Regions from separate parts of the Homo sapiens genome. Here all the other regions are linked to region 7. The links are contacts of gene promoters, found by promoter capture Hi-C in blood cells and fetal thymus (Javierre and others, 2016). All regions are on one chromosome and are shown on one strand. Each heading gives the region's core, a stretch centred on a gene start or on the middle of the fragment in contact. The rest is flanking DNA. Distances are from core to core; before and after follow the strand shown. Region 1 holds the start of ZNF280C (zinc finger protein 280C). Region 2 overlaps ZNF280C (zinc finger protein 280C). Region 3 overlaps AIFM1 (apoptosis inducing factor mitochondria associated 1). Region 4 has its middle 5.3 kb from the start of SMARCA1. Region 5 overlaps ZNF280C (zinc finger protein 280C). Region 6 has its middle 25 kb from the start of RAB33A. Region 7 holds the start of ZDHHC9 (zDHHC palmitoyltransferase 9).

Evidence for each region. Contacts are between HindIII fragments. The CHiCAGO score rates a contact against its expected background, and 5 or more counts as called.
Region 1: a contact is called between the fragment with the promoter of ZNF280C here and the fragment with the promoter of ZDHHC9 in region 7, in 4 of 17 cell types (activated CD4 T cells, non-activated CD4 T cells, naive CD4 T cells and 1 more). The highest score is 6.5, in activated CD4 T cells.
Region 2: a contact is called between a fragment that was not itself captured here and the fragment with the promoter of ZDHHC9 in region 7, in 5 of 17 cell types (activated CD4 T cells, naive B cells, naive CD4 T cells and 2 more). The highest score is 7.2, in activated CD4 T cells.
Region 3: a fragment that was not itself captured here is called in contact with the fragment with the promoter of ZDHHC9 in region 7 in 5 of 17 cell types (M1 macrophages, naive B cells, non-activated CD4 T cells and 2 more); the score reaches 6.7 in M1 macrophages.
Region 4: a contact is called between a fragment that was not itself captured here and the fragment with the promoter of ZDHHC9 in region 7, in 1 of 17 cell types (monocytes). The highest score is 5.5, in monocytes.
Region 5: a fragment that was not itself captured here is called in contact with the fragment with the promoter of ZDHHC9 in region 7 in 4 of 17 cell types (activated CD4 T cells, non-activated CD4 T cells, neutrophils and 1 more); the score reaches 8.5 in activated CD4 T cells.
Region 6: a contact is called between a fragment that was not itself captured here and the fragment with the promoter of ZDHHC9 in region 7, in 11 of 17 cell types (neutrophils, total B cells, activated CD4 T cells and 8 more). The highest score is 13.3, in neutrophils.

The regions. Positions count from the first base shown.
Region 1 is chrX:130,267,639-130,270,368 of GRCh38, forward strand. ZNF280C (zinc finger protein 280C) reads right to left here and starts at 1,261. Exons shown (of 19, transcript NM_017666.5): 1 at 1,124-1,261. RefSeq lists a silencer at 962-1,041. The HindIII fragment of the contact is 6,334 bases long and covers 1-2,730 here.
Region 2 is chrX:130,233,996-130,236,695 of GRCh38, forward strand. It overlaps ZNF280C (zinc finger protein 280C), which reads right to left. Exons shown (of 19, transcript NM_017666.5): 7 at 2,474-2,644; 8 at 2,219-2,325. Among named protein-coding and RNA genes, the nearest start is that of ZNF280C, 34 kb to the right of the region's middle. The HindIII fragment of the contact is 6,518 bases long and covers 1-2,700 here.
Region 3 is chrX:130,148,028-130,150,727 of GRCh38, forward strand. It overlaps AIFM1 (apoptosis inducing factor mitochondria associated 1), which reads right to left. Exons shown (of 16, transcript NM_004208.4): 3 at 1,442-1,541. It also overlaps a transcript of RAB33A not described here. Among named protein-coding and RNA genes, the nearest start is that of AIFM1, 16 kb to the right of the region's middle. The HindIII fragment of the contact is 749 bases long and covers 877-1,625 here.
Region 4 is chrX:129,527,440-129,530,139 of GRCh38, forward strand. No RefSeq gene overlaps it. Among named protein-coding and RNA genes, the nearest start is that of SMARCA1, 5.3 kb to the left of the region's middle. The HindIII fragment of the contact is 5,151 bases long and covers 1-2,700 here.
Region 5 is chrX:130,212,887-130,215,586 of GRCh38, forward strand. ZNF280C (zinc finger protein 280C) reads right to left here. Exons shown (of 19, transcript NM_017666.5): 15 at 2,307-2,447. Among named protein-coding and RNA genes, the nearest start is that of RAB33A, 42 kb to the left of the region's middle. The HindIII fragment of the contact is 3,342 bases long and covers 1-2,700 here.
Region 6 is chrX:130,195,500-130,198,299 of GRCh38, forward strand. No RefSeq gene overlaps it. Among named protein-coding and RNA genes, the nearest start is that of RAB33A, 25 kb to the left of the region's middle. The HindIII fragment of the contact is 2,551 bases long and covers 130-2,680 here.
Region 7 is chrX:129,842,415-129,845,201 of GRCh38, forward strand. It overlaps ZDHHC9 (zDHHC palmitoyltransferase 9), which reads right to left and starts at 1,472. Exons shown (of 11, transcript NM_016032.4): 1 at 1,282-1,472; 2 at 845-912. The HindIII fragment of the contact is 4,624 bases long and covers 1-2,254 here.

The DNA of each region.
Region 1 (2,730 bases), core at 11-2,510, 430 kb after region 7:
GTACACAGCCCTAATTTTACAAGCAAATCAGTGCCTTTGTAGGCTCAGTGAAGTTTCTGCGTAAGGAGATTAAGTTTGCACAGTAACCCCCAAACCAGGACACCTCACAAATACTAAGAGGAGACTTTTGCAGTTTAAAACTCTACTTCTAGGTTTCTATTTTATGTTTAGGGGCACTAAAAGACATTACAACTCATAGTCCAAACCTGAAAACAATAGTAAAAAAAATTTAAGGTCGCAGATTTAAAAAACTCCACAAAACTAACAAATCTTTCCAAACAAAGAGAATCCCCTGGATGAAGGTCTCCCGTGCTTGCAGAAGCTGGTTCACTTGACAATTTCCTCTCGAATTTCTCCTTAAAAAAGCATTAAAACCTGAGAGAAGTTGAAAGGAACTCCCTCCATCTCTAGAGCAGGAGTATACCTCAGCATAATTTTTTCCATCTCTTTAAGTAAAACCTGCAAACCTCCTAGTTAGAATATAGTGTATTTAACTCCACGTTTCTCCTCAGGGCTCTTATCCTCTAGACAATAACGGAATAGAGCACGATTTCTGTGACAGAGAAGGGAAGTCCCTTTGGCCAGAACAAGGTTGTGGGCATGGAATGACCGGTCCTGTGTGGGGGGAACCTGCGCAGAAAGAAGGGGTCACAGGGTCTCTGATGCCTGAAAGTTCGGAATCCCCTCAAGTCTCTTTTCGTTTGATTGAAGAGACTTGAGGGTGGGCGGGTCTCCGTCAAACATCAGTATCAACCGTACAAAAGACGAAAGGGAGTTGCCTCCAGAATGAAAAGCCCAAACCGGGTTGGAAACAGACCGACAGGACTCAGGAGGTGAGAAGGCTGCCGCAGCTGCCGCGGCCCGCGAAACCACTGCCCGCCGCGGGCCGCCAGGCTCTACCTCCAGAAAACCCTCCCCCTTCAGGGCCCGGCGCAAGATGGTGGCCCACCAGCTACCACGCCGCCAAGCCTGTCCCCTCCCCCGCACCCCCGTCGATCCGCACCGGCATAGAGACCCTCAGCCAGCCGCCCTCAGAACCGCCCTCTGGGGAAGGCTGCCTCGGCCGCGCGGGAGAGCTGCTGCCTCCTTCCGCGCGGCACAGGCGGGGGCGGGGGCCGCTTACCGAGAGCAGAGCAGATCGGTCTGACTGGGGTTCGGATAAGGAGGAGGAGAAAGAGGAGGAGGAAAGGGAGGAGCGCGAAAAACCTCAGGCGACAGCCTCAGCAACAGCGACTCCCCCGGAGACTTCCAGCGCGGAACCGGCGTCTCAGCCGGGGGCAGAAGTATATAACTGCACGCGCTGCCTCATGGGTAGACGCCGACTCCACCCCCTGAACATCCGGGGCCTTTTAACCGCCCACGGACGGACGGCTGGTACTTACATGTGCACATGTGCAGCTACTTTACTTACCGTCGAAGGCAGCGGAGGAAGTGTAATTGACTAGCGTGGATGCAGCTTTTCTAAGCAAACGCTCGATTTAACCTGGAGTTGTCATCCCAAAAAATACATTGTACCTGACTACAGAGAAACATGAATTCTGGGTCTTCCTTGTGTGTGAGGGCTAAAGACACGAGTTAAAAATATAAATATATTGTTTTCTGGAAATACTGTACTTGAAACACGTCTCAAAATACTAGTTATTTTTACCTTTTGTTTTAAACATATGGTTTTGCTTGTCTCTCTGTTACTTCTAATTGCCATATGGATGCCTATAGTAGGTACAAAAAATGCTAAGGAAAAATACATTTACTCTTACACACAAGGAAGACCCAGAATTCATGTTTCTCTGTAGTCAGGTACAATGTATTTTGTGGGATGACAACTCCAGGTTAAATCGAGCGTTTGCTTAGAAAAGCTGCATCCACGCTAGTCAATTACACTTCCTCCGCTGCCTTCGACGGTAAGTAAAGTAGCTGCACTTGTGCACATGTAAGTACCAGCCGTCCGTCCGTGGGCTGGCCGCGGTGGCTCACACTTCTAATTCCAGCACTTTGGGAGGCTGAGGTGGGTGGATCACCTGGGGTGAGGAGTTTGAGACCACTTCCCTTTCCTCCTCGCCTTTCTCCTCCTCCTTCTCTGAACCCCAGTCAGCCTGACCAACATAGTGAAACCCCATCTTTACTAAAAATACAAAATTAGCAGGGTGTGGTGGCACATGCCTGTAATCCCAGCTACTTGGGAGGCTGAGGCGGGAGAATCACTGGAACTTGTAAATACATTTACAAGAAAAACACTTGCCAAAATACTGCTTACAGAAACATTTTCTAGACATTGTGCTTTGAACTGTAAAAGTTTCTTCTCCCAAATTTCTCCACAAGGTTTATAGCAGTACTGGTTCATCTCTCTTTTTCTTTTTTGAGACGGAGTTTCGCTCTTGTTGCCCAGGCAGGAGTCCAATGGCGTGATCTTGGCTCACCGCAACCTCCGCTTCCCGGGTTCAAGTGACTCTCCTGCCTCAGCCTCCCGAGTAGCTGGGATTACAGGCATGCGCCACCACACCCGACTAATTTTGTATTTTTAGTAGAGACGGGGTTTCTCCATGTTGGTCAGGCTGGTCTCGAACTCCCCACCTCAGGTGATCTGCCTGCCTCGGCCTCCCAAAGTGCTGGGATTACAAGCGTGAGCCACCACGCCTGGCCCAATTCATCTCTTAAGAGTTGCCCAGACTGAAAATATCGTGTGGCTTACATAACACACACGTAAATCCTGTCACTGAATCCTACCATTTT
Region 2 (2,700 bases), core at 89-2,588, 390 kb after region 7:
CAAAGAAAGCATAACAAAGCATTGTGACAAAACTAAGACCAATTAAACCTATCAGACCAGTTAAATTTCTCCTACCAATGAATATACATGGGTTTAACTCAACTTCTAAAAGAAAAGAAGTTTTCATATAGGATCACAAAAGAAAAAACTCTGGTGAAAGCAAGAAAGAACAAAAACAAAGTGATTTGGGAGGGTTGAAAGTAAAAGGATAAGCAAAGAATATAACAGGCAGGTGGAAACAATAAGAAAGCAAGGGTTGTGAGCCTGATATCAAACAAAAAGCACTGAACAGACAAAAAGGACACTATAAAAATGCTAAAGGGTGCACCCACAATGAATCGTAAGAGATGGATACATCTATGTCCTAAAGAGCAACACCATGAAACAGAATTGGAAGATATCAAGGGAAACAGTGGTAATGTGAGACTTGGATTCCCCTTTCCCAAACACACTCAGGGAGGTGAAAACAGCCAAAGACTCTAATACAGTTTTGCGTCAGAGTAAAGACGTTTGTATTTGCAATTTTAGAATTCCTTTTTTGTAAAATGCTGAATTTTAATAAAAATTTGCCAATCTTTGAAATAGTGAACAATTCCTTTTCCTAAGTTGCTTCTTTGCTTTGCACTCGTCTCATCACTTATTTCCCACATATAATCAACACTGACTTTTTTCTTGCCTCCTTTGCCCCTTCCTGTCATTTACACTGGGCATGCAAAGAGAATACAGACTATCTTTATACACACATAACAGAATACTGTAATATCTACTAAAATATTTTAAGTGGCGTGTTACCTTAATCCCATACTCTATTAGTACTGTGAAAATTACCTAAAACCTAATTTCAAAGAGCTTCCTATATTAATAGAAAGCTAGAATTCATTTATAACTATATAAACTATATTATGGATTGAGTTAAAACTATCATTTCATATGAAATGCTCCATCATTAGAAGTTTATTTCTGAGTGTTGAAAATTAAAATGTAAGACTAAGGTTTTCATAGGGTAATGTGACATGCATTAAGTCACCACGGGCAAAAATAAGGTTTTCACAGGGTAATGCGACATGGATATGTCACCATGGGCAAAAAATAAGGTAAACAAAAGGAGCTTTCACTTTACACAAAAGATTAAGCACCTAATAAAACACCTGCTTTACAGGAAGTTTGAAGAATGTCATAATTTAGTCAATAAAATATTGCAATTTGTACATTATTTTCATTTAAAATTAAAATGCAGGCCAGGCGCAGTGGCTCACACCTGTAATCCCGGCACTTTGTGAGGCTGAGGCCAGTGGATCCACTTGATGCCAGGAGTTCGAGACCAGTCTGGCCAACATGGCAAAACCCCGTCTCTACTAAAAATACAAAAATTAGCCAGGCATGGTGGTGCTACGTGTAATCCCAGCTACGCGGGAGGCTGAGGCAGGAGAATCGCCTGAACTGGAGAGGCAAATGTTGCAGGGAGCCAAGATTGTGCCACTGTACTCCGGCCTGGGTGACAGAGCAAGACTCTGTCTCAAATAAATAAATAAATAAAAATAAAATACAATATGCATACACTGTACTGCATATGAACTTAATTAAAAAATTTAAATTGATACATAATGTTTATAAATTATTATGGGGTACATGTGATATTTTAAGTGCACAGAATATGTAATGATCAAATCAGGATGTCTGAGGTATCCATTACCTCGAGTATTTACCATGTCTCTGCGTTGGCAATATTCTAAGTGCTCTCTCCTAGCTATTTTTCACTCTACTTTGCACCAAACATTACAACTTATTCCTTCTATCTAACTGTATATTTGTGCATAATAACCAACCTCTCTTCCTCTTCTCCTACCCCTCCACACATACCCTTCCCAGCCTCTGGCAACTATTGTTCTACTCTCTACCTCTATGAGATCAACTTTTTTAGCTCTCACATATGAGTGACAACGTCCATTTGTCTTTCTATGCTTGGCTTATTTCACTTAACATAATGGCTTCCAGTTCTATCCATAACTTTATTTTAAAAATTTCATCATTGGAAAGGATTTTAAAATCTTATATAATCATTGTGAATATCAATTTTAACTTAAGTTACATGGAAATGCCAATACGAGGTTTCTTCTCTAAATATCTGGATAAACCAGCATTTACTGTATATCAATTTTCAATATTTTCAAGGATCTATAAAACATTTTTAACAATTGAACTTTGAAAAAAGTTTTACCTTCATGTGGTATTTCAAAGGATCCAAAAGATTGAACTGAACATTGCACTTTGGACAAGCTCTTAGGTAATCTGCTCCAGCATCATATGGAGATGAGGTATTTGTACCTACAATAAATTAAGAACTTTTAAGACTCAAATCCATCTTTTTAAAACCTTAAATGACCACTAATAATGGTTTTAAAATTCATCACAATTTCTAAAACGTATATAAAAATAATACTATTTTTTTTTACATGTCAGATTTCATGTTTACCTTTTGACAGCATAACTTGGGAGGATGTCACTGGAGGAGAGCCAATTAAAGGCAATGAAGTGGAGGGATTTATCTGAGGAACATCTTCACTGGTCTTTGGTTTTTTTGGAGTAACACTGTTTACTTTAGAAGTAGAAGGATGTTTCAACACATATGAAGTATTTTTCATACCTACAAAGATTTAAATAGTGAGAAAGATATTTGTAAATATTTCAGTATGGAATATT
Region 3 (2,700 bases), core at 1-2,500, 310 kb after region 7:
CATCCTGATGGGAGAGGAAAAGCAAGTATCCCTTTCATTTCATAAGTGAAAAATAGGAGAATGATTTCACCAATGTCATTCATTCATCAGGTCTGAACTGGTACTAGGACATAGCTTAAATATTTAGTTACTTCTAAAACATTTAGAAAGTATACATCAGTAGGCTTTTGCCCTTCCCATCAATTTCCTAGTGATCACCAGGAAAATATCAGGCTCAGTTTCACCTTCCGTTAGCAACAAAGGGAGAAAATCCAGGAGGTCAATTGGGGATTATCATACAATGTTCAAGAATAAGGGGGTGCTTTTGAAAAAAGCAGAACAAATTGCCCACCCAGAGTTGTGGGGCTTATTAAAGGATTAAAACAGTCCTCTCTGAAAATTGAAGTGAATCATGTGAAATGGAAGTGATGGCTAGGGTATGTGCTTTAGGAAAGCAAATATACCTTTAGCAACTCGAAACTGCAAAGACTCAAAAGGGGAACAAAACAGACTAGAAGAATTTCCTCATTTAAAAAACAGCTTTCGGCTGGGCGTGGTGGCTCCCACCTGTAATCCCAGCACTTTGGGAGGCCGAAGCAGGCGGATCACCTGAGGTCAGGGGTTTGAGACCAGCCTGGCCAACATGGTGAAACCCTGTCTCTACTAAACATACAAAATTAGCCAGGCATGGTGGCACACACCTGTAATCCTAGCTACTCCAGAGGCTGAGGCGGGAGAATTGCTTGAACCCAGGAGGCGGAGGTTGCAGTGAGATGAGATCGGGCCACTGCACTCCAGCCTGGGCAAAAAGAGTGAAACTCCATCTCAAAAAAAAAAAAAAAAAAAAAAAAAAGGTTTTCATCTCTTTTCCATCTTTTCCAATAGTTTTCCTTGCTAAGCTTGCCTTTTAAGAGACTTTTTTTTTTTTTTTTTTAGACAGAGTCTTGCTCTGTCACCCAAGCTGGAGTGCAGCAGCGTGATCTTGGCTCACTGCAACCTCCGCCACTTCAGTTCAAGAGATTCTCATGCCTCAGCCTCCCGAGCACCAGGGATTACAGGCGTGCACCACCACGCCTGGCTAATTTTTGTATTTTTAGTATAGATGGGGTTTTACCATGTTGGCCAGGCTGGTCTTGAGCTCCTGACCTCAGCTGACCCGCACATCTCGGCCTCACAAAGTGCTGGGATGACAGGCGTGAGCCACCGTGCCCAGCCAAGAGACTAATATTAATATACAGATAAACAACCAATCATAATTATCACTAGCTTTATTCTCAAACCCAAATTTCAGCCAAATGCTTTAAATCACTCCCAGTTCTAGGGTAATACCATACTTTCTAGATGCTTGCAATCTCATACCACCATTGCTTCTACAAGACATCCATAAATCACAGCACCCAAACTGTTTATAACTTTCCCTTTGTGAGTCTCAAATCATAGCAAGACTTAAGGGAATACTCACCAGATAACGCGGCCTTTTTCTGTTTCTGTTCTGGTGTCAGCCCTAACCCTGAAATTCTTTCATTGTATCTTTTTTCATCCTCTTTCATAGTCTTGTAGGCCTGCGGATCCAAACATGGAGAAAGTTTATTTCACCATACAGCTAGCTCATACTGTAAGTAATATTATCTTTCAATTAAATGAGAAGCTTTTGTCTATCTGATGTTAGTTCCTCTATGTCAAAACCACTAAGACAAAGTTGTTTTCTTAAGAAATAAAAAATACTGGGTGTGCACATGCTTGGTATGGAAAAAATATGTGTAAGCAGATGAAAATATTCCAGTTTCAGATTTTTAGGCTCTCTATAAAGAATTCTCCCCATATTTTATTCTGAAGGTACAGTTTAAGAAAAAAGAAAAAATCATTTTATACTAGAAGAATAAAGTGCTAGAAAGGGCTAATCTATATATGAAGCACAGAAACGGGGTTTGGACTACGCTGGACACTAGCTGTGAAATCAATCTATAGGGTCCCGGGTAGGAAGCTGGGACATAAGTTTTCCTGGTCAACATTCCGGCTTTTGCTAAGTACTCACACAGTGGTCAGAAACATGGCTGCCTGTATTCTATTTTTAGAGAGTTACCCATCATTCCCTCAATGGTCTATCCTTTTCTTAAACTCACGAGGTAGAAGGAATCTCATTCAGAAAAACTACACACAGATATTTACTAGGGGGTCAAACACCTTGCTTAAACACACCTGTTACATTTCAAATATTCTATCTTCTCTATCCTTTCAAATTGGAAAAGGGTAATTTTACCATTATGACCAGTTGTGTGTTGTTCTTTTTTAACATACAGTACCAGAGTTTATTGGAGACTTTTTTTTTTTTTTTTTTTTTTTTTTTGAGACGGAGTCTCGCTCTGTTGCCCAGGCTGGAGTGCAGTGGCGGGATCTCGGCTCACTGCAAGCTCTGCCTCCCGGGTTCACGCCATTCTCCTGCCTCAGCCTCCCAAGTAGCTGGGACTACAGGCGCCCGCCACTATGCCCGGCTAATTTTTTGTATTTTTAGTAGAGACGGGGTTTCACCGTTTTAGCCGGGATGGTCTCGATCTCCTGACCTCGTGATCTGCCCGCCTCGGCCTCCCAAAGTGCTGGGATTACAGGCGTGAGCCACCGCGCCCGGCCTATTGGAGACTTTTTAAAGAAAAGGTAGGCAAGAATGACTTAACATTACAATGCTTTTGGCCGGGCATGGTGACTCACACCTGTAATCCCAGC
Region 4 (2,700 bases), core at 82-2,581, 320 kb before region 7:
TACATAAATGTATTTCCACAAAGGACAAACCCTGGAAGGTTCTACTCCAAATGTTAAACCAGTAGTTACATACAGCAAGGTGGTGGGATTGTGTGTAATATTTTTTTCTTATTTTGCTTTTCTATTCTAGTTTTCCTCAATGAAGGTGTTTCTTTATGTAATAGATAAATACCATTTTATAGATGAATCAAAACGTATTACTCAAAACTGAACAAGTTGAAATTAATCCTTAACAGAAGGAGTATGACCTTGTAGATAGGGTGAGTCAAAAACAAAAACAAAAACAAAAAAACAAAAAAAAACAGGCCAGGTGCAGTGGCTCACGCCTGTAATACCAGCACATTGAGAGGCCGAGGTGGGTAGATCATGAAGTCAGGAGTTCGAGACCAGCCTGGCCAAGAGGGTGAAACCCCGTCTCTTCTAAAAATAAAAAAAATTAACTGGGTGTGGTGGCAGGCACCTGTAATCCCAGCTACTTGGGAGGCTGAGGCAGGAGAATCGCTTGAACCCGGGAGGCGGAAGTTGCAGTGAGCCAAGGTCACACCACTGCACTCTAGCCTGGGTGACAGAGCAAGACTTCGTCCCGAAAAAAAAAATGAACAGAACAATTTCACACAGAAGAGACAATGCAGTAGTAATGTATAATGTAGCAGAAGCAATGTGAGTATTATACGGTTCACAATAATGTTACTTGATTGAGGAATGATTTTTGACATTGTTTTAGGCGGTATATAAAATGATTTTTCTACTTTTAAGCAATTTTGCAAAACTAGCTCAGGAAAAAAAATGAGATTTTCTTTCTTTCTTTTTTTTTTTTTTTTTTTTGAGACAGAGTCTCGTTCTGTCGCCCAGGCTGGAGTGCAGTGGCACAATCCCAGCTCACTGCAACCACCACCTCCTGGATTCAAGCGATTCTTCTGTCTCAGCCTCCCGAGTAGCTGGGACTACAGGCGTGTGCCACCACGCCTGGCTAATTTTTGTATTTTTAGTAGATATGGGGTTTCACCATGTCGGTCAGGCTGGTCTGAAACTCCTGACCTCTTGATCCGCCCGCCTTGGCCTCCCAAAGTCCTGGGATTACAGGCGTGAGCCACTGCGCCCAGCAAGATTTTCTTAAATGCTCCCAACCCTGACATTCTACCCACCCATACATGCCCTAAAACACGAAACACATGCTAAATAATCTGAATTGGGTTTGCTAAAGGCCCAATATTTTTTCACTATTTAATACTTTTTATTTCCACTTAAATAAGTCAGAGTTAGTTTCTATTACATGCAAGTAGAAATTCTCATGGATGCACATGTTACCATTGATTTCCATGTATTTACTATGTATGTAAAGGCACAATATTATCCATGGCGGTATTATTAGAGGCAAAATAGTACAATTATTACCAGCTTTGGCTGTAGAGTCAGAAAGACTTGGAGTTCAGATTCTACTAAATTGTTTAACCTCTCTCTCCTCTGATTTGCATCTGTAAAATGGGTATAATAATACCTAATTCAACGTGATCTCATGAGGATTTAATGTAAAATATGTGTATAAAACATTTAACATGATCCCGGCATATAACAGATACTCAGTGGATGGTAGTTAACAAAAAGAAAAAAGCAGGGTGCTGCTTTGAGTTTTGGCTAAGCCAAGGAAAAAGCCAGAATATGATAAAGTAAGTCTGAAAGTCAGTGCTAAACTAAAATAGGAATAAGGCGGAAGTGCTGTTTGCCAAGTTCATTTTCTCTGTTCATTATCATTTATCAGGGTCAGCAATTTGGTGCAGTTACACTTCCCCAAAGGTAAGTTCTGAAGAAAGGCAGTAATGAGGGAGAAGAGGGTTAGGCTACTTCTCTACTTAGACTGTGACTTTTTTGAGGACAGGAGTCATACTCGATTTGTCTTTGTTTAAAAAGAGGCCGGAGGGGCCAGGCACGGTGGCTCATGCCTATAATCCCAGCACTTTGGGAGGCCGAGATGGGAGAATCACCTGAGGTCGGGAGTTTGAGGGCAGCCTGACCAACGTGGAGAAATCCCGTCTCTAATAAAAATACAAAATTAGCTGGGTGTGGTGGCGCATGCCCATAATCCCAGCTACTTGGGAGGCTGAAGCAGGAGAATCACTTGAACCTTGGAGGCAGAGGTTGCAGTGAGCTGAAATCATGCCATTACACTCCAGCCTGGGCAACAAGAGTGAAACTCCATCTCAAAAAATACATAATAATAGTAAGAGGTAGGAGGGAAGGCAGTTCAGGGACTGGCTCCCTAGCTACATCATGCCCTCCCCACTCCACACATATTCTTCAGCTTCTATGTTGCCTTCTGGTTTCTCCCATTTCTCTTCCTTCAATCTTGTCCTGAGTGTCCATTCTTGCCAGATTTCACATGCATAATAATACACTTACATAACATTTTTCAGGGCTCTCCCCCAGCTTACCCACTGCGTGTGGAACAAGATACCAAAAGACAAAAGACAATAATGTCTACATACACACACACACACCACACACTCTCTCTCTCTCTCAAAAAAAAAAAAAAAAAAGGATTGGGTCCTTGTCCTGGGCCTAGATCAGTGGTTTTCAAACTTGAGCACATCAGCATCATCTGGAGGGCTTGTTAAAACACAGATAGTTGGCCCCACTCCCAGAGTTTCTGAATTGGTAAGTTTGGAGTGGGGCCAAGAATTTGTCTAACAATTTCTCCACTGA
Region 5 (2,700 bases), core at 128-2,627, 370 kb after region 7:
AAAAGTGGGACATGTCTGTTTTTTGAGATTAATGTCTGAAGGAAAAAAAACCTTGAGACAGGAAAAAGTTAATCTTGAGAAAAACGAAAAGTATGACCTCTGAGTAATTATTAGGCAAGGTTAACAACTGAGGGACTAGAATAAAATCTGACAGATGTTGTAGATAAAAACAAAGTGGTATTTTTGGCCGGGCGTGGTGGCTCACGCCTGTAATCCCAGAACTTTGGGAGGCCGAGGCGGGCGGATCATGAGGTCAGGAGATCGAGACCATCCTGGCTAACATGGTGAAACCCCGTCTCTACTACAGATACAAAAAAAATAAAAATAAAAATAAAAATTAGCCGGGCGTGGTGGCGTGTGCCTGTAGTCCCAGCTGCTGGGGAGGCTGAGGCAGCAGAATGGCATGAACCCGGGAGGCGGAGCTTGCAGTGAGCCGAGATCATGCCACTGCACTCCAGCCTGGGTGACAGAGCAAGACTCCATCTCAAAACAAAACAAAACGAAACAAAAACAAAGCGGTATTTTTAAAAGGGCAGGACCAAATTAAAGATCATGAATTCAGAGCTGATTGAATCAAGCATGGTGTGGTAGTCTAGAACTGAGCATAGGGATACATCAAAAAGGATAAAAGATGCAAAGATAGCAAGACTAAGCATGCCTGAAGATATAAAGGATTTTAGGACAGAAACAAAGCAGCATTCAAAACAGAAGACCTTGAGGGCATGGTTGGCTACAAAATTGAATTGATACTACTGGACTAGAAAAAGGGGTCAAGACTCTGAAAGTCATGGGGTAATGAGAATTCAAAATAAGTATTGTCTACAATGAGGTAAAATGGGATGGTGTTAAGAAAGGGGATACAACAAAGCAGAAAGGGATGTAAAGTGCTAGCACTAAAGAAGTAAAGGTATCATAAGGTCAGGCTGACCACCAAAGGGAAAAAAATCCCTGCAAGCCAGGTGCTGAAGCCATCAAAAAACGTGGGTGAATCCTTCAAAGTGGTAGCTGATTATGAGCAGAAAATAATATAGAGGTCTTGTTATAATCTGCAAGAAAACAACTTTTATTGGTTATACCTATTTCTTTTTTAAAAAATAGAAATGAGGTCTTGCTATGTTGCCCAGGCTGGTCTTGAACTCCTAGGCTCAAGCAATCCTCCCTCCTTGGCCTCTTAAAGTGTTGGGATCACAGGCATGAGCCATTGTGCCTGGCTAGTTGTATCTTATTTCTAACTGAAAATAAATGGAACTATCTTAATTAGAATAATGAACTTATATCTGGAAACTTTTTGGTTATTTAAAATAAAATCCAATCTGAAGGAATAAAGCAAGCCCCTGTGAATGAGGTTCAAATGAAAGTAAGGGGGGCTCTGAAGTCTTTCCCTTGTGTAGAGTAGACCATAGGTGCTCAAATTAAGTTGAATCAATGCATGAAAAGGAATTCTAACGGTAGCATCATGACTGGAATATTCCTACAGTCTCTTATGTTTCATTGAATGAATGCAAAGATGGATGATCATAAAGACAAATGGACAGACAGATGCGGGAGACAGAGACAGGATAATGTTCTTAGCATCATTAAAAAGCCTGGAACCTCTCAAAGTGATCGCTGTGAAGAGGATAACACTCAGGAAATTACATATACAGGGGTCCCTGTATCCATGGGGGATTGGTTCTAGGACCTCCTGCAGGTATCCAAATCTGCAGAGACTCAAGTCTCTGATATAAAATGGCATAGTACTTGCACATAAACTATACATATCCTGCTGTATACTTTAAATCATCTCTAGATTTGTGAACCTATGATACCTAATACAATGTAACTGCTATTACATAGTTTTATACTGTATTGTTTAGAGAATAATGGGAAAAAGGTTTGCACATGTTCAGTAAAGACCTAATTTTTTAAAAACACTTTTATCTACAGTTGGTTGAATCCACAGATGTGGAATGCAAGAGCTGATCATATTTATTTGATAAATATATTGAAAACACTTAACATTTTATGTTAAAAAATAACCACTTTTTGAAAGACATAAAAGAAAAAAAAGTCCCATAGAAAAAACAAATTTCCCTAACAAACTCATTTTAATTTCATTAGTCTAATTGTTCTCAGAGTTTTTGTCCCAGTAATTTTATGAGTTACTATGCTGGAAAATAGTACAAGGAACATCTTAGAAGTTCCCTATTGCTAGACCCTTTTAGTTCCTTGATGAGACAAACTTGCTTTCAATAGGATAACTCTGTTTTCAAAAAACAAATGACCCAAATGGAAATTCTGATTGGCAGTTTACATGTTTAACTTACCTCATCATATGATTTACAAAGGCTTTGTTACAGTTAGTATTGTACTTGCAAAAACTGCAGTGGATGTATATAGAAAAGTGGCTTGCAAAATCTTTTATTTTGGAATGACATTCAATGCACTTGTGAATTCCCCGACGACACCTTATGGAGACGGAAAAAAAAGATAAAAAGAGATTATAAAACAAAAATAACAGGGGAAAATCTTATTAACATTTTATTAACTGAAGCCAAAATGTTTAAATTGGTATCTTTAAGTAGACTCATAATTTCAAAATTTGCTTTGAAACAAGCTAGAGTAAGTGTAAAAAATTTAACACCAGTTAACATTTCCCTGGAATAAAAGGGATCAAATAAACCAATTAATCTATCATAAGATAAAAGCACAAAATATAAG
Region 6 (2,800 bases), core at 155-2,654, 350 kb after region 7:
AACTTGACCGCAAAGCCACTTGGAAGTTACCAAGAGAACTAAATCAACTGTTTGAAATTACTTCAAATTGTGGCCTTTAAGGATTTGACTCAATCAATAAGACAACTTGTTAAGTAGCTGAGTTTTCCAAGCTTGGGGTATCTACTAATTTATCAAGGATTCTTATGTTCTGAGGCACTGAAGATTTGCTAGATAGAAATACCCTCTTCTGTTATTTTATCAAGAAAAACACTTACACAACTTAACACTTTCCTTCGATTCTATGTTATGATAATCTAGTTAGGAGAACATACTGGAGAAGATAGACGAGGGGGAAAAATGGAGATAAGGGGAAAACAGAAAAGGACGATTTCAAGATTGAGTGAAAATATCCCTACTCTCTGAGAAAGTAAGGTATTTCTCAATCATTTTAAAAGTCCTACAAAAGGAAAGAACACTTTACTACTGCTATTTAAAATTACATGTTTTTGGCCAGGAACGGTGGCTCACGCCTGTAATCCTAGCACTTTGGGAAGCTGAGGCGGGTGGATCACCTGAGGTCAGGAGTTCGAGACCAGCCTGACCAACATGGGGAAACCCCGTCTCCACTAAAAATACAAAAAAAATTAGCTGGGCGTGATGGCGGGTGCCTGTAATCCCAGCTACTCAGGAGGTTGCGGCAGGAGACTCGCATGAACCCGGGAGGCAGAGGTTGCAGTGAGCCGAGATCGTGCCACTGCACTCCAGCCTGGGTGACAGAGCAACACCCTGTCTCAAAAAAAAAAAAAAAAAAGAAAAAAAAATTACGTTTTCATATAATTAATTGTATTGAATAAGTACCCAAGATTTCATTGATTCAAGATTCCTTTATTTCTGGAAGTGAATTACTGGTAATAATGAATAAAGAAGTTTCTTTTAAAGAAGGGGTTCTTTAGCACAAAAGGAATGCTTCCCTCCAGAGCAGACAGGATTCCGTAGTAGTTTTCAATAAGGCAGTGTCATTTCGTAGTCCTTAGACAGAAAAAGCCAGAGCTACGCTCATTTCCGACATTAGAGAATTATGCCACATGTAATTGAAGCACTGTGATAAGATGTCATCCACCCGACAGTTTGAAGGAATGTACTTCAAGACCTGGGAATTATAAGCCAAAGTTATGAATAACCACAATGTTGATGGATTGCCACTAAAACTGTCAGAGAAGATTCCACTGATGTGTTGTTTCCAGGGTCTCAGCAGTAGTGATAGTAACAGCAGTAACAGAATTAACAGCAATAACAGCTGAAGCAGCAGCAGGAGTAGCAGTAACATCAGCATTGTTTATTCATTGTCTACTCTGTCACGCCAGAGCCAAACGTTATACATATATAATATACAGATGGTCCTCGAGTTACAATGGTTTGACTTATGAGTTTTTTTTTTTTTTTTTTTTTTGAGATGGAGTCGTGCTCTGTTGCCCAGGCTGGAGTGCAGTGGCGCCACCTCGGCTCACTGTAACCTCCGCCTCCCAGGTTCAAGCAATTCTCCAGCCTCAGCCTCACAAGAAGCTGGGATTACAGGCACACGCCACCATGCCCAGCTAATTTTTGTATTTTTTTTTTTTAGTAGAGACAGGGTTTCACCATGTTGGCCAGGCTGGTCTTGAACTCCTGACCTTGTGATCCTCCCGCCTTGGCCTCCCAAAGTGCTGAGATTACAGGCATGAGCCACCGTGCCCGGCCAGACTTATGACTTTTGTTGTTGTTGTTGAGACAGAGTCTTTCTCCCTCGCCCAGGCTGGAGTGCAGGGGCACCATCTTGGCTTACTGCAACCTCCGCCTCCTGGGCTCAGGTGATCCTCCCACCTCAGCCTCCAGAGTAGCTGGGACTACAGGCGTGCACCACCACACCCGACTAATTTTTGTATTTTTAGTACAGACGGGATTTCCCCATGTTGGTCAGGCTGGTCTTGAACTCCTGGGCTCAGATGATTTGCCTGCCTCTGCCTCCCAAAGTGCTGGGATTATAGGCATGAGCCACCACGTCCAGCCAACTTATGATTTTTTGACTCTACAATGCTGTGAAAGGGATACACACACCTTCAGTAGAAACTGTACTTCAATTTTTTTTTCTGGGCTAGCAATATGCATTAGGAGATTCTCTCGTGATGCTGGGCAGTGGCAGCGAGCCACAGCTCTCAGGCAGCCATGAGATCACAAGGGGTAAACAACCAAAAACACATTGTACTGTGTTGCCAGTAGAGTTTGCCCAACTGTAGGCTAATGTAAGTGTTCTGAGCACATTCGAGGTAGGCTAGGCTAAGCTACGATGTTAGGTAAGTTAGGTGTGTTAAATGCATTTTCAAGTTATGATATTTTCAATTTAGGATGGGTATGTCATAATGCAACCCCATTGTAAGTTGAGGAGCGTTTGTGTATATATATTCCTTACAACTTTGCAAGAATATCACCATTACATGCCTCTCACTGATGAGGAAGCTGAGACTGAACAAGTTCAGGTAATTTACTCAAGGCTACACAGCTGTTCAGATACAAAACCAGGATTGAAACCTAGGACTGTTATTTCGAGGCTACACTCTCTTCAGCAGCCCCCCCAGCCACCGAATATCACAGTGGTATGGACAAACAGATATTTTTCAGTGTGGAGGATTAGAAACAGTAGAAGTCATGCACAGCAGCCTCTCCAAGTTTGTTGATGATATTAAGCTTTTTCAGGTGGTCAAATACCAAACTGACAAGAATCAAACTGCAGAAGGGTTTCAAAATCAGAGAAGAGAGGTATATGAGTATGAGCATGAGGTGAACTATGGTGTGGCCAAGTATA
Region 7 (2,787 bases), core at 222-2,721:
GGACCAGAGAGAGGAAATAACTTATCCAGGACCACACAGCAGCAATGCTGATACTGCTAACTTCCAGTCAAGGGCATGTTCCACTATGCCACAGTGTTCTTTCAACATCATTAAAAGGACTCTAAAAATAATAGTAGAGTTTCTGTCCTTATAAAACCTCCCTCCCTTCCTCCACTTCACCTTCTTTCTTCAATTAGCCACTCGAATATGAATCACAGCAGGGAACAAGTCACCCTCTGGCAGGGCCAGGAGGTTCTGGACGCTCTGTGCACATACGTGCATTGTATTTACACAAAACAGATTTCCCCTCATCAAACCCTCTGCAACTTCCTGAGTCCGGGAAATGAAACAATCTGGCTGGTCTAGCCTAACATTTGTGAGAATCTTAATGAAACCACATCAGAGACCTGTAGGTGAAAGGCTGACTTAAGCAGGAGAGATTCTGGAATGGTTGGTGACTGCTGATGGCTGGTTGGGGGGTGGGGAATGGCAGCAGCTAAGAAAAGTCACAAGGGCGCTTTCTGGGACATGTCCTAAGTACCATCTCTACTCAGCATCCTGAATTCCCAGGCCCAGAGTTTCTCAGCCTCTGCTACCCTTCTCCTCCGCTCAGGTGTGGTGTTGTGGCCTCTATTTACCGACACCACATGCCCCACGCTGGCAGGACTGAGGCGGAAGCCTGCAGCCCGACGGACGGAGGGAGAAACAGCCAACTCGCGGGCTGGAGAGGGCAAAGGTCCAAAAACAGCCTAGGAGCGGAGCAGGGAAACGAGAAGGTAGAAGGTTCGGGGAAGGGGAGGGGGGCCCAGAGGTGCAGAGAACCCGTCCTTTGTGTAAAACTAACCTGGAAGACAATCTCCTCCCGATAAACCGGCCCAGCGGGAGAAGGGAGACCAGGAAGGGGGAGCCGGCCTGGAAGAACAAAGATCAAAATCCGTCGGGAAGCAGCGACCGGCTCCCCAGCGGGGGGCCGGAGGCCGGAGGCCGGAGTCCGGGGCCGAGCCGCGGGCGCGGCCTCTCGAGGCCCGCCCTGACTCCGCCACGCCGCGGACCACCGCCCCAGGCAGGTTGGGACGCGCGCCACATCCACACGCACACGCAGCCACACGCTCGTACACACTCACACACGCCCCGCCACGTGTAGTCACCCCGGGCCAGGGGCTCGGCGGCTGCCGAGTTGAGAAGGGCGGTGCCGACGTCCCCGCCTCCAGGCGCCGCGGAAGGGGAGGCAGCCCACCCTGCAGCCGAGCCCAGGAGACCCCCGCCCCCACCCCTCGTTACCTGAACCACGGAGACCCAACTCGGCCGGCAGCTGACGGCAGGAAACGGACCGTCCCAGGGAATCACGTCGGCAGCCAAAGGTGGCAGCGACTTGTCCTCCCCGGGCCGGGAGGCTGTCTCCTCCTGACAAGGGGCCCCAGTGGTCGGGGCCCTAAACCAGCTGTGGCAACCGCCCACCACTGGCCAAATGGAACGCTCCTCACGTCACCAGGTCGCTCCAGTAGTTGCTCGCCCTCTATTGGCCGATCGGCCTCGGCGCCTCCGCCCCGGCCGCCCCTATCCCGAACTGCCATTGGTTTTGCCTAACGCCACTCGACGATGCCTCCGCCCACTCCTCCACCCATCTCCCTGCTGCATGCCCACCTGCCAAGCCACTGCCAGCCTCTCTTTGGGGTCTGAGCGCCAGTATGTGAAGTGTTGCCTTCTATTAATATAGTTACGCAGAGACGGAGGTTAAGGGTAGTGCCGATGGGACAGCAAAGGGTGGAACCAGCCTACACACACGCGCGCGCGCGCGCACACACACACACGCGCGCGCACACACACACACAGTGAGATGCTGAAGCAACACTAGCTCACAGATCCGGGTGCTCACCCCAAACTAGGTCTGCCATGGGCCTCTCCAGCCCTGCTTGCATTTTAAAATCAACCGCAACTTGAGATTTTACTCTTTATCGGCATAAAAACAAGTCATCTGCCTCCCAAGTCTCATTCAGTAGCCAGGGACCCCATATCTGTCCCAGTCACCCTAGCCTGCATCTCTAAGTCTTTCAAATCAAAACACACAAACAAGCATAAAAAGCATGTTGTAAAGGATAAATGTCCCCAAGAACGTATTATCATTTTGCAGCACCTAAAACAACTAATTGACATTAATGGAGTTAAAGAAACTCCACTGAGGACATAAATTCTTCCAGGTAGGTAATGAAGTAAAGATTGCCAAAAAGGTTGTAAATTTTTATTCGGTTTGGAAAGCTTATGATGATTAAGGGGAGAATCCAAGGCAGAATTCCCACCCACCAACCAGATTGATTTTTTCCTTCTGCCACCCAGCTCTGCATTACTGCCACCATGAGCCACTGCTACTGATCCGAGTGAGTTGCATGCATTAAAAGTTTGAGATTGGGCTGGGCGCGGTGGCTCACGCCTGTAATCCCAGCACTTTGGGAGGCCGAGGCAGGTGGATCACCTGAGGTCAGGAGTTCAAGACCAGCCTGGCCAACATGGCAAAACCCGTCTCTACTAGAAAGACAAAAGTTAGCGGGGAGCGGTGGGACTCGCCTGTAGTCCCAGCTACCAGGGAGGCTGAGGCAGGAGGATCACTTGAACCCAGGAGGTGAAGGTTGCAGTGAGCCAAGATCATGCCACTGCACTCCAGCCTGGGCGACAGAGAGAGACCCTGTCTTAAAAAAAAAAAAAAAAAAGTTTGAGATTGAAGGGGGGAAACAATTGAGAACCACAGTATTATACTATAGGGTGACTTTAAAAGACACTAGGTCTGTTTTC